Regions from separate parts of the Homo sapiens genome. Here region 2 is linked to region 1. Evidence: promoter capture Hi-C in 16 types of primary human blood cells and fetal thymus (Javierre and others, 2016). All regions are on one chromosome and are shown on one strand. Each heading gives the region's core, a stretch centred on a gene start or on the middle of the fragment in contact. The rest is flanking DNA. Distances are from core to core; before and after follow the strand shown.

Region 1 (4,851 bases), core at 1,279-3,778:
TTTTTAAATGTTAAGTAAGTAAATAAACCTTAGCCCGTCTACTGTTTGGGAAGATCCTTCTGTGCTAGAGGGAGAAATAAAATTTCAACCTGTGTTCCTCAGCCCCTGAGGAAGCTATTAAGGGGATTCATTACAAGTACCTGAGCCTCCCTGCCTTATTGTAGCTGCCCTCTTTCCCAGAGGGTATTGTGGAGTGTGATGTGTCTTTATGTTGCTCTGCTACCCTAGGAAATCAGAATCGCGTTAGCAAGGCCAGTGGCCTGACCTCCACTGTAGAACCTGCCTGGCTTCCAGATTTGGGAGGAAGAAACCGCATTTACTAACCATCTCCATGTTCTTGCTACAGTTTTATTTGTTCTTCATACACACACAAAAAGGTCAACATAGATAGATGTCCTTATTTTGCAGATGAGGAAACTGGGGTATAAAGAAGTAACTTACCCAAAGTCACAAAGCTAGTGAGCAATAGAGCTAGGACCTGAACGCAGAGCTACCATCCAAGCTTCACTCTAGCCAACTCTCTAGAGTGCCAGCAGCAGCCACTTCTAATGCCCTGCAGCCTAATTTCTTAGTGTAGGAGGGGCGTTGCACCACACTGCTGTCCAGTCCCAGGACAGAACAGCACTGGCTCCTTGCATTCTCCTTTGAAAGATGCTTACGCCTTACAGTCTATCAGTGTTCTCTATCTCTGCTTAAAGCTAAAAGGGGGCCAGCCCTGGAATGCCATACACAAGCTGCTGACTGGCCTTGTAGCCTTCTGAGGTAGATGCTCACAAGCCCTGCGCTTCATATCCATGCATTCTGAATCCCAAAACCCTTCTCCCCAAAAAAGCTCCCAAACCATCCCCAAACACTCAAAAGCCAAGACTCCTCTAGAATCCACCAGAGCCCAAGCAAAAGAAATTGAGCAACAATCTGCCTAGAATGAAGCCTGCCATGGACTAGGTGACCTGCTGGTCCTCCCTGGCCTCCTGCCAGCAAGCAGCCCTGCTTCTCTTTGCATTTTAATGCCGAGGGAGCAAGGGAGCCTCTGCCATTGCCAACTAGAGCCTCTGGATACAATGGGAAGCCTGAGTGGGAGGGGGGCCAGCTCTTGGCATAAGAGAGCCAGTCTTCCTTCTCACTGTTTGAAATCCAGTGTGTGTTGGGGGAGGGGTAAGCAGGCTTATCCCCAGAGAAAACATCCTTTCCCACCAACACTGCACTAATAGCCCCCAGACCTCGAGTCACCACATCAGGCGTAATGTAGAGGGAGAGGTCAACCAAGCCAGCCCCTGGCCCCCATCCCACCCAGACCCCTGTGCTTTAGCACTAAGCAAACTATAGTGTGCTAGCCAGCCCTTCCCTGCTGATGCTGATGCTATAGTAACAGCATCTTTTCTATGTGTTCATCTTCCAAAAGCCTGTGACCCCAATATACTCTACACTCCTCAAAAGATTCTTGGAAAGAGACTCATATGCCTTAGGGACAAGGCAGCAGAAATGACACAAGTCCTGAATGAGCATCTCCTGTCTGGGGTGATGAGGGAAGGTGGGAGAACTGCTAGTGTCACCCAGGATCCACAAGGCCCATGGGGACCTCTGGTCCAGAAACGGCAACTTGCTATCCAGAGTTCAGGAAGTAGCTTGCAGCTTCTGTTGCCCAGGCTGGAGCACAGTAGCACAATCTCAACTCACTGCAGCCTCGACGTCCTGGGCTCAAGCAATCCTCCCACATCAGCCTCCCAAGTAGCTGGGACAAATGACCAAGGCTTGTCTTTGCTTTAAACCTGGCCTTGTGAGATGTCCCATGCAACTACCTAGTCTTTGGTAGGTGCACACCATCATGCCTGGCTAATTTTTGTATTTTTTGTAGAGACAGGGTTTCACCATGTTGGCCAGGCTGGTCTTGAACTCCTGACCTCAGGTGATCCACCCGCCTCGGCCTCCCAAAGTGTTGGGGTTACAGGTGTAAGACACCGCGCCAGGCTGCAGCTTCTTATACATGCACCTTGCTGAATTAGAAGTAGGAGCTCAATAGGGGAGGGAGCCTAATGAATCAAGGCTGTATTTCCAGGGAGCTTGAGACTTGATGTTAGGCTTACACACACGCACACACACACACACACACACGCCTTTCCAGTGGGCTGGCTGGGCCTCTTCTCCTCACTGCCAAGTTGCAAAGTTGTGTGGTCACCTCCCCCCCCCACACACACCAGCTTCCCGCCAGCCTGTGCCCTCAGCCCTCGCCTCCCTGAGCCAGGACAAAGCCCCGGCAGTGACTGGGAGGGGAACAGGAGGAGGGACAGAGGGATGGGAAAGCCTGCACAAAGGAATTCCTCACCCCAAGCCCCCTGACCGCCAGCGAGTAAAGAAGCAGATTTGCTCTCCCTCCCGCTTCCTCCCTCCCATCTTCCCACCCGGGCTGTGCCCAGGCCACAGAGCAGCTGCAGGCCTTGGGAGAGGACCCACACAGCCTCCTGTAGGTGGCAACAGTGCCACCTGTTTGACTCATAGGGCTGAACCGAGGACTGAAAAAGGGAGGAGGCAGACCACTCGGAGAGGAGCTGGGAAGCAGTGCAGAGAGGAGAGCGGAGCGGAGCTGCCGCTGAGCAAAGGTGTGAGGGTTCGGGAAGGCTGGGGGGCTACAGGTGGGAGCTGTGGAGCAGAGACCAGCTCCATCCCACTGGGATTGGGCCGGGGGATTGAATGGCACCCCTGTCAGCAACCCTACTTGGGGTTTTCAGGCTGCTCAGACCCTGATCCCATCCTACAGGCAGCTCCTGAAGGGAGGGGACTCTGGAAGGCAGTGTCTGGGGTGCAGGGGTAGGACCCCAGGGGAGGCAAGAGCTTAGAGCAGGCTATCAAACCAGCTCCAAGATGGGCAGAGGCAAGGGCTTCCCTTTGGGTTGGCTTTTTACCGGGAAGGGTCTCGTAGAGGGGAGGGGTTTCCTTCCCCCAGCTCCAGCTCCTCACCCCTACCCTAACCCTCCTTTCCCAAGGCAGCATAAAGAGGGCAGTTCAGAAGCAGCCACACCTTCCTGCTTACCGGACCCACCCACTGTGCACCCCTCTAAGACTCCATAGCCTCGGGAGAGCTCTGAGGACAAGAGGTCCTGTCCCTCAGCCCGCACGCACACATGCTCACACACTTTGGGTGTATCCAGGGGCTCCTTTACATACTCAAAGTCACCTAAAATCATATTGTACCGACAGCCAGTTGTGCTGTCGCGTGCAAATGCTGACACAAATCACATACCGTCTCGCGTAGAATCAGTCACGTACCCAGCCAAGTCTGGGGATCAGCTCAGTCAGCCAAACCCAGAAGCATAAGGTACAGGGGTCCCCTGCCCCAAGACAACCACACCCCGCATACACACCTTTGCCCTGCGTTTGTTGTACTTTCACCAAAGCTAACTTAGAGGGTGGGGCTCCTAAAGGCGAGTCTGGGCTTCTGGTTGGGGTTGGGGGATGACTGGGCAGGAAAGGGCAGGACTTGAGGGGAGGCTCTGTATTTTGAAAATCCAAAGATTCCTTTAGAAGACTGGGAGTGACCCAGGCAACATGTTCACCTCAAGTCTTTCTCTTTTTGGCAGTGCCCTTTGTCCCCTGAGAGGTGGACACAGAGAATCTTTCAGGGATTTGTGATCTGAATAATCTCTATAACCATAGCAACTGGCCAACTAGCTGGGCCTTCCTTAGCCCCAGGTCAGAACTGTAACCTTTGCTTCAGGTTACTCCTGCTTCCTGGGCTGGAAAGCAATTCAACATGGGGTTGCCTCCAGCTTGGCCAAACCTGCTTTAACTTGCTGAACTGAGTTTGTCCCACCCTGGGCAGTTTCTCTTGAGTTCTTACCCCCAGGGCAAGCACTCCATCCCCAGAGGTGTGTGCTGTTAAATGGGGAGGAGCTGGAGAGAGTGGATATGAATCCTGCCCGAAAAGAGGCTGGACCTCTTGGGTGTCCCACTGACTCTCCAGGTAACAAGATTAAAGGGAAACGAAGGCTCTGGAGACTGTCTCCCATTGCCAGGCTTGCAGCTGGGGCTGCTCGCCTCATCCACTCTGGCACTCTGGGCCTGCCCCGTGACCTCCGTTGCTGAGCAGCGGCCCAGGCCTCTGCCTCTCCCCCGGGCTCCTCAGATACACTAGGAGGGAGACTGGGATCTGCCCTCTGCCAGGGTCCCTGATGGTCGAGTGTCCCTTCCCCCAGGCCTTCACCATGGCCGAGTCCCCCGGCTGCTGCTCCGTCTGGGCCCGCTGCCTCCACTGCCTGTATAGCTGCCACTGGAGGAAATGCCCCAGAGAGAGGATGCAAACCAGCAAGGTGGAGTAGGGATGGAGGGGGGAGGCTGGAAGTCAGAAGGCAGAGGCTCACTGGAGGGGATAAGGAGGCCAATTGTGCTCATAGACAGCTTGGGGGAAGGGGCTCTCTCTCCCAGGAAGAAAATCTCCCTCAAATATGGAAAGAGCTGCCCCCCGAGCAGAGCAGCCCAACACGGGGCAGGCAGCTCCCTTTAGCTGCCACCCGTTGGGGACTCTGAGTTTGAAGTAGGTATTGGTTGTGAGTTTCTCTCCTGCCCCTTTGCAGTGCGACTGTATCTGGTTTGGCCTGCTCTTCCTCACCTTCCTCCTTTCCCTGAGCTGGCTGTACATCGGGCTCGTCCTTCTCAATGACCTGCACAACTTCAATGAGTGTGTCATGGATTCCCCCTGCTTCCCCAGCATACCTGTCAACCTGCTCCCCACCCTGGGACCCGGGGGTGGCCCACTGTCAGTCATCCCCCAGCCCTGCCCAGCTGCTCAAACCCAGCTCTGCTGCTACCCAATCTCCTTAGAAAATCCCTCCACAAAATCTCCTCAATCCTTGGAGC
Region 2 (4,851 bases), core at 974-3,473, 930 kb before region 1:
AAGACACTTTAAGGTCATCATGACATTTTTTCTGCACAACAACCTTACGAAGTAACTATTTCTCCCCGTTTTTTTAACTGATAGGAAAACTGGCTCTGATTCTTTGTGCTCAGAAGTGCTAGGCTGGGTTGTAAACCCAGGCCTGCCTGATTCCAAAGTTAATGCTGTTTTAAAATACCAAAGTGCTGATTTATGAAGAGAGTGGGAGCTGATTGAGGCAACTGCGAGATCACTGGACCAGGACCCAAGCCACAGGAGGAGAACCACAGATCCTCCAGCAGACAGGACAGCCACAAAGCTGAAGTGCTTTGGCTTTGTGGAGGGCATATGCCAGAGTATTGCCCTCCCTCCAACACAGAGGCAGTAGAGGAGCAGGTTGTTGGAGAAGCCCCCAAGCCAGGGAAACCCAGGTTTTCCTTGGGCCCAAAGTCCCAGGTCACACATGGGTCAGTGTCCAAGGTGACTTGGACTCTAGTGCTCTGCCCAGATTTACTGCCTCAAGACCTCTACTCAGCTTCCTTCTATACTTAGCTCTACTGATAACAGGAGATGAGTCTGACCGTGACTTCACACTGAGTTGTGGAGGATGGAGCTCCTTCCTTACGCCCTGGCCCTAACTTTCACCACTTTCAGGAGGCAGTTGCCTCCAATGTGATGAGGCAGGAAGCTACAGAGAGGGGCTTTCTGGCCTTGACAAGCAATCTGCACCAGATCCAGGACCAGGAGCCTTTTGGCCAAGGCCTTGCCCTGCCTGGGAAGCAGACTCCAGAGAGGATCTGAAGAGCAGTGCTAGAGGGGTCCCATCTACCCATTACCAGATGGAAAATCTACCTCTATCTTGACAGGTATGTCTCATGTTCACCCATTAAAAAGTACTCAGTGAAGAAAGAAGCTGCTTCCCTTGAAAGGAGAAACTCATAGCACTGAAGAGAGAATCTATGGAAGAAGCAGCTCTAGTTTTCCCCCAACTCTGACCCTTTGAATTTCTCCTTTCCCCTTAGGGCCCTAGGTCTCCGTCTGATCTCACCATCATCACTTCCTTGGTAAAACAGAACCTGGGGGCTCCCAGGTTGAAGCAACGAATATCTTGGGGAGGAGGCATGCAGGAGAGAAGCTCTCATTCCCAGTACCCCCACAGTGAACTCCATGGTAGGGCTTGGCCTCTTTCTTTTTGCCCCTGCTGCCACATACTACATGCCCCAGCGATGTGTCACTCTCTTTTTAAGACTCTGGCCTGAGAGAGGCACAAAGCCTATCCTTGGCTTTCCCTGGGCACAGTAGAGTGAGCAGGAAGCAACTGCACAAAGAACTTTCTGAAGCAGTCTGGGAGAAGGAGAGGGACATGCCAGAAACCCAAACAGTCCAGCTTTCACAGCACATGTCTCAGAGCCAACCACAGCCAAGTTTTCTCTGAGACTCACACATTCTGTCTGTACTATATTCAGGCTCCAAAGCAGCAGAAGGCTGGCTCCTTCCCTCTCCATTCCTGACCTGTGCTCACAGGGTAGGCACCTCTTACCTCCAACCTCAGGGGGCAAGTGTTTGAGGGCTGGGTTCCCTCCCTGGCCAGTACTACAGAAACCTGCGTCACAGTCTTCTTGGAGTCCTCCCCCTCAGCTCTGGTTCCCTCTCTGAAGAATGCATTTCTTTTCCAGGTGATCCTTAGGACTCAGTTGTTGATTGATACCATTTATTAACTGACAGTTCAAGTGAGTGCCAACCCCCTACGTTGAGGGGTTTGGCTATGACCTTTATAGGCCCCACAGTCTGACAACACTGTAGCCCTATGAGACCTTTAACATCCAAATATCAAGAGTTACCCACACATGTACAACAAGGGTCTGATTTCATCAGAGTTGGCATCTTAATTCTCTGTACTGTGAAGTGTGGGGACTTGCATTCAGCCCAAAACAATAACCTTTATTAAAAACTCTTTGGATATACCTGAACCACTGTACTTTCATCCTTGCTATGAGAGGCATAAGAAATAGCTTTCAATTTAAGCAGGAAAAATGAAAATTGGAAACAAGATTTCCAGTGAATCTTGAAACTGAGAGAGCTTTGAAAATTAAAGACCCTCTACCTATGGCAATCTTTAACATAGGAAAAAATGGTCCTCCAAAGTATAAACTAGAAGAGAAGCTTTTGTGGGAAGGAAAGAAATGAATGAGGTAATCTCAATGTGACTAAAATCCTAAAGTGCTTTTCTCCATGGCTTTTCCATCCTAGAGGGTGTCTGAATTCCCTTTGCTCAAGCCACCCTCTCTATGCATCAAATCATAGAATCACAAAACCTTGGATGTCAAAAGCTTTAGAGATCATCTTGTGGCTATATCACCATAAGCAGTCATTCAACTTCTCCTTAGATATCTGCTTGAAGATACCTTCATTGAGAGGAATTCATTATCTCTGGAGGCAGACATGAGAGAATAACCTTCTGTTTCTACATGGTGTGGGTCATGTTTGGTATTAAAACACAGTCATGCTAGCAGATTCATTAAGGTAAAGCCATACTCCTCTAATGGAATTGGGATGGTCTCACTTTCTCACTTGAAATGTTTATTAATTAATTAATTCTAAATACGGAGCATCTATGTGCTAGGCATTGTGTTTGCAGCTAGAGAAACAAGGAGGAACAAAAACAGACATGGTTCCTGTTCTGAAGGATTCTGGAGTGTAGTGGGAGAGACAGTGATTAACCAAGGAATCACGCAAATAAGGGTGTAAATGCATCTAAGATAAGTGCTATGAAGAAAGGAAGACAGTTCTACAAGGGATCTAACAAGGGAACCTGACCTAGCCTGCAGGAACTAGTCAAGGAAATCTTCCCTGAGGAAGTGATGCTGGAACTGGAATCTGAGTATTAAGTAGGATTAGCCAGGCAAAGTGGCTAGAGGTAGGGAGTAAAGAGAGTGTTTCAGGCAAAAGAAACAGCATGTGCAAAGCTCCTGTGGCCAAAAAGACATGGCATTTGGAACTCAAAGGTGGCCAGTGTGGGCCAGGCATGGTGGCTCACACCTGCAATTCCAGAACTTTGGGAGGCCTAGGCAGGAGGATCACTTGAGGCCATTCTCAGGTATTCTGTTAGAGCAACACAAAATGGACTAAGACATAAGATTATTGGCTAAGAGTGAGAGGGTGGACACAGGGGTTGGAGGTTTAAGAAAAGAATGGAGAAGATTTGAAATAGTCATCCTGGAGAATGAAAAGTACTAAAGAAATTTAGTACCTGTTTGGATTGTGAAGCAATGTTGAAGGCTTGATTGAGATTGGTGATTTATAGTGGAGCAGGTCCCGTTTGTGACAATGGAGGTGGGTGGCTGAGGTAGAGTGGAAGAGATGGGGCAGTTTAGGAACCGGGAAGCCCAGGTGATGGCTGAATTTTAATTTGTATACTGAAGTCCCCTAGGATGATGGCGGGCCTTGCAGTCAGGGGTGGGGAAGCCAGTGAGACAGAAACCAAATCCTTCATTTGGTTTCAGTAGCTGCAGGGTCTGTACACTCCAAGCTCTGGAGTAGTGGTGAGCCTAGAGGTAGCCATCTAGGTACCTTTGTGGCCTAGAGTGGGATGGATCCTAGGGTGAGGCCACTCTGTCAACTTAGGGATAAGGTCAGATTCCTCATATTAGAAAGTAAAAGTGAAAGGGCCCAAGGTGGGTTAAAATGTGAACATTTACTTCTCTTGGTTTTGACTGAGAAGATATTAAAATATCTAGGAGGAATCTCCTGGGTTTAAGTCCATGTCCCAGCCCCATCTATCCCAGCTCACCCACAGCTGCCAAACAATCAAGAAGTTGAAAATGTTATTTGGTGTTTGAATCTTGGCAATTACCCAGAATCACTAAGTTTATTCTGAGAAGAGATCAAGTAGTCATGAACTCCGGAACCAGACTGCATATACTCAAATTCTCCCTTCGCCACTTGCCAACTGCATGACCTTAGACAAGTGACTTAACCTGTCTGTACCTCAGTGTCTAGAAAATAGAGACAACGGTAGATCTACCCCACATAATTGTTGTCATAGAGGGTTAAGTGGCTTAAAATATGTAAATGCTTAGAATAGTACCTGGTGCATGTTAAGCACTATGTAACTGTTCATTTTTATTGTTATTGACTCTCTCCCAATTCACTCAATGTCTCTCTCATTCACTCAATCACTTGATACTACCCTGCTTGCTGGAATCTCCCTGGCTCTGAACCCTAACCTGAATAACTACTTTTGATCCTTCCCCTATGCAGTTTCTTTCCCGGGTCTGTTTACCTCTAGACGAAATAAGCTCGGGGCCTTCAAATGTTCCTCGTATGACGTGACCACTAGTGCACTAGCCCAGCGACTTACCTTTGGACATCTTGCATCTTGTCATTGTATCCTAGCTTAAATGGGTTGTTCAGAATGGAGCACAGTGCTCCAGGTAGGACATGACAAGTGTAGGGAAGGGCAGAACCATCTCTTCTCTTGTTCTGGTTCTCTACTTATATTAATGCAGCCTAAAATCTAATTAGCTCTGTTGGCAGCACCATCACTCTGTTGGCTCACATTGACTTTACAATCAAATCAAGGTCTTTTTCACATGTGCTGTTGTTAAACCAGGCAGAGCTCTTCTATCCTGTGCTAGAGGAATAAACCCGGCTGTAGTTGCTAGGAGAAAGTCAAGTCTAGTAGCCAAAAGCCCAGTGTCTTAGGGGTTTAGTTCAGGCAAGAAATTGGTGGTTAGGGTTCATGGCAGTTGCTACTCACTGCCTGCCTAATAATGATTTTTCTCTTCTTCCTTACTTATAGAATCCCAATTTTGTTCAGGGCAGCAGTGTGCCCAGCTAAAAGTACTGGATTTCCCAGCTTCCTTTGCAGCT

Evidence for each region. The method cuts DNA at HindIII sites, captures the fragments that hold promoters and counts their contacts. A CHiCAGO score of 5 or more calls a contact.
Region 2: a fragment that was not itself captured here is called in contact with the fragment with the promoter of GDPD2 in region 1 in 1 of 17 cell types (naive CD4 T cells); the score reaches 7.2 in naive CD4 T cells.

Annotation. Positions count from the first base shown.
Region 1 is chrX:70,420,786-70,425,636 of GRCh38, forward strand. It overlaps GDPD2 (glycerophosphodiester phosphodiesterase domain containing 2), which reads left to right and starts at 2,529. Exons shown (of 16, transcript NM_017711.4): 1 at 2,529-2,597; 2 at 4,191-4,304; 3 at 4,569-4,672. The coding sequence starts at 4,200. It overlaps KIF4A (kinesin family member 4A), which reads left to right. Exons shown (of 31, transcript NM_012310.5): 31 at 1-101. RefSeq lists enhancers at 1,495-2,483, 2,484-3,472. The HindIII fragment of the contact is 11,609 bases long and covers 501-4,851 here.
Region 2 is chrX:69,495,088-69,499,938 of GRCh38, forward strand. No RefSeq gene overlaps it. Among named protein-coding and RNA genes, the nearest start is that of NALF2, 6.8 kb to the right of the region's middle. The HindIII fragment of the contact is 167 bases long and covers 2,141-2,307 here.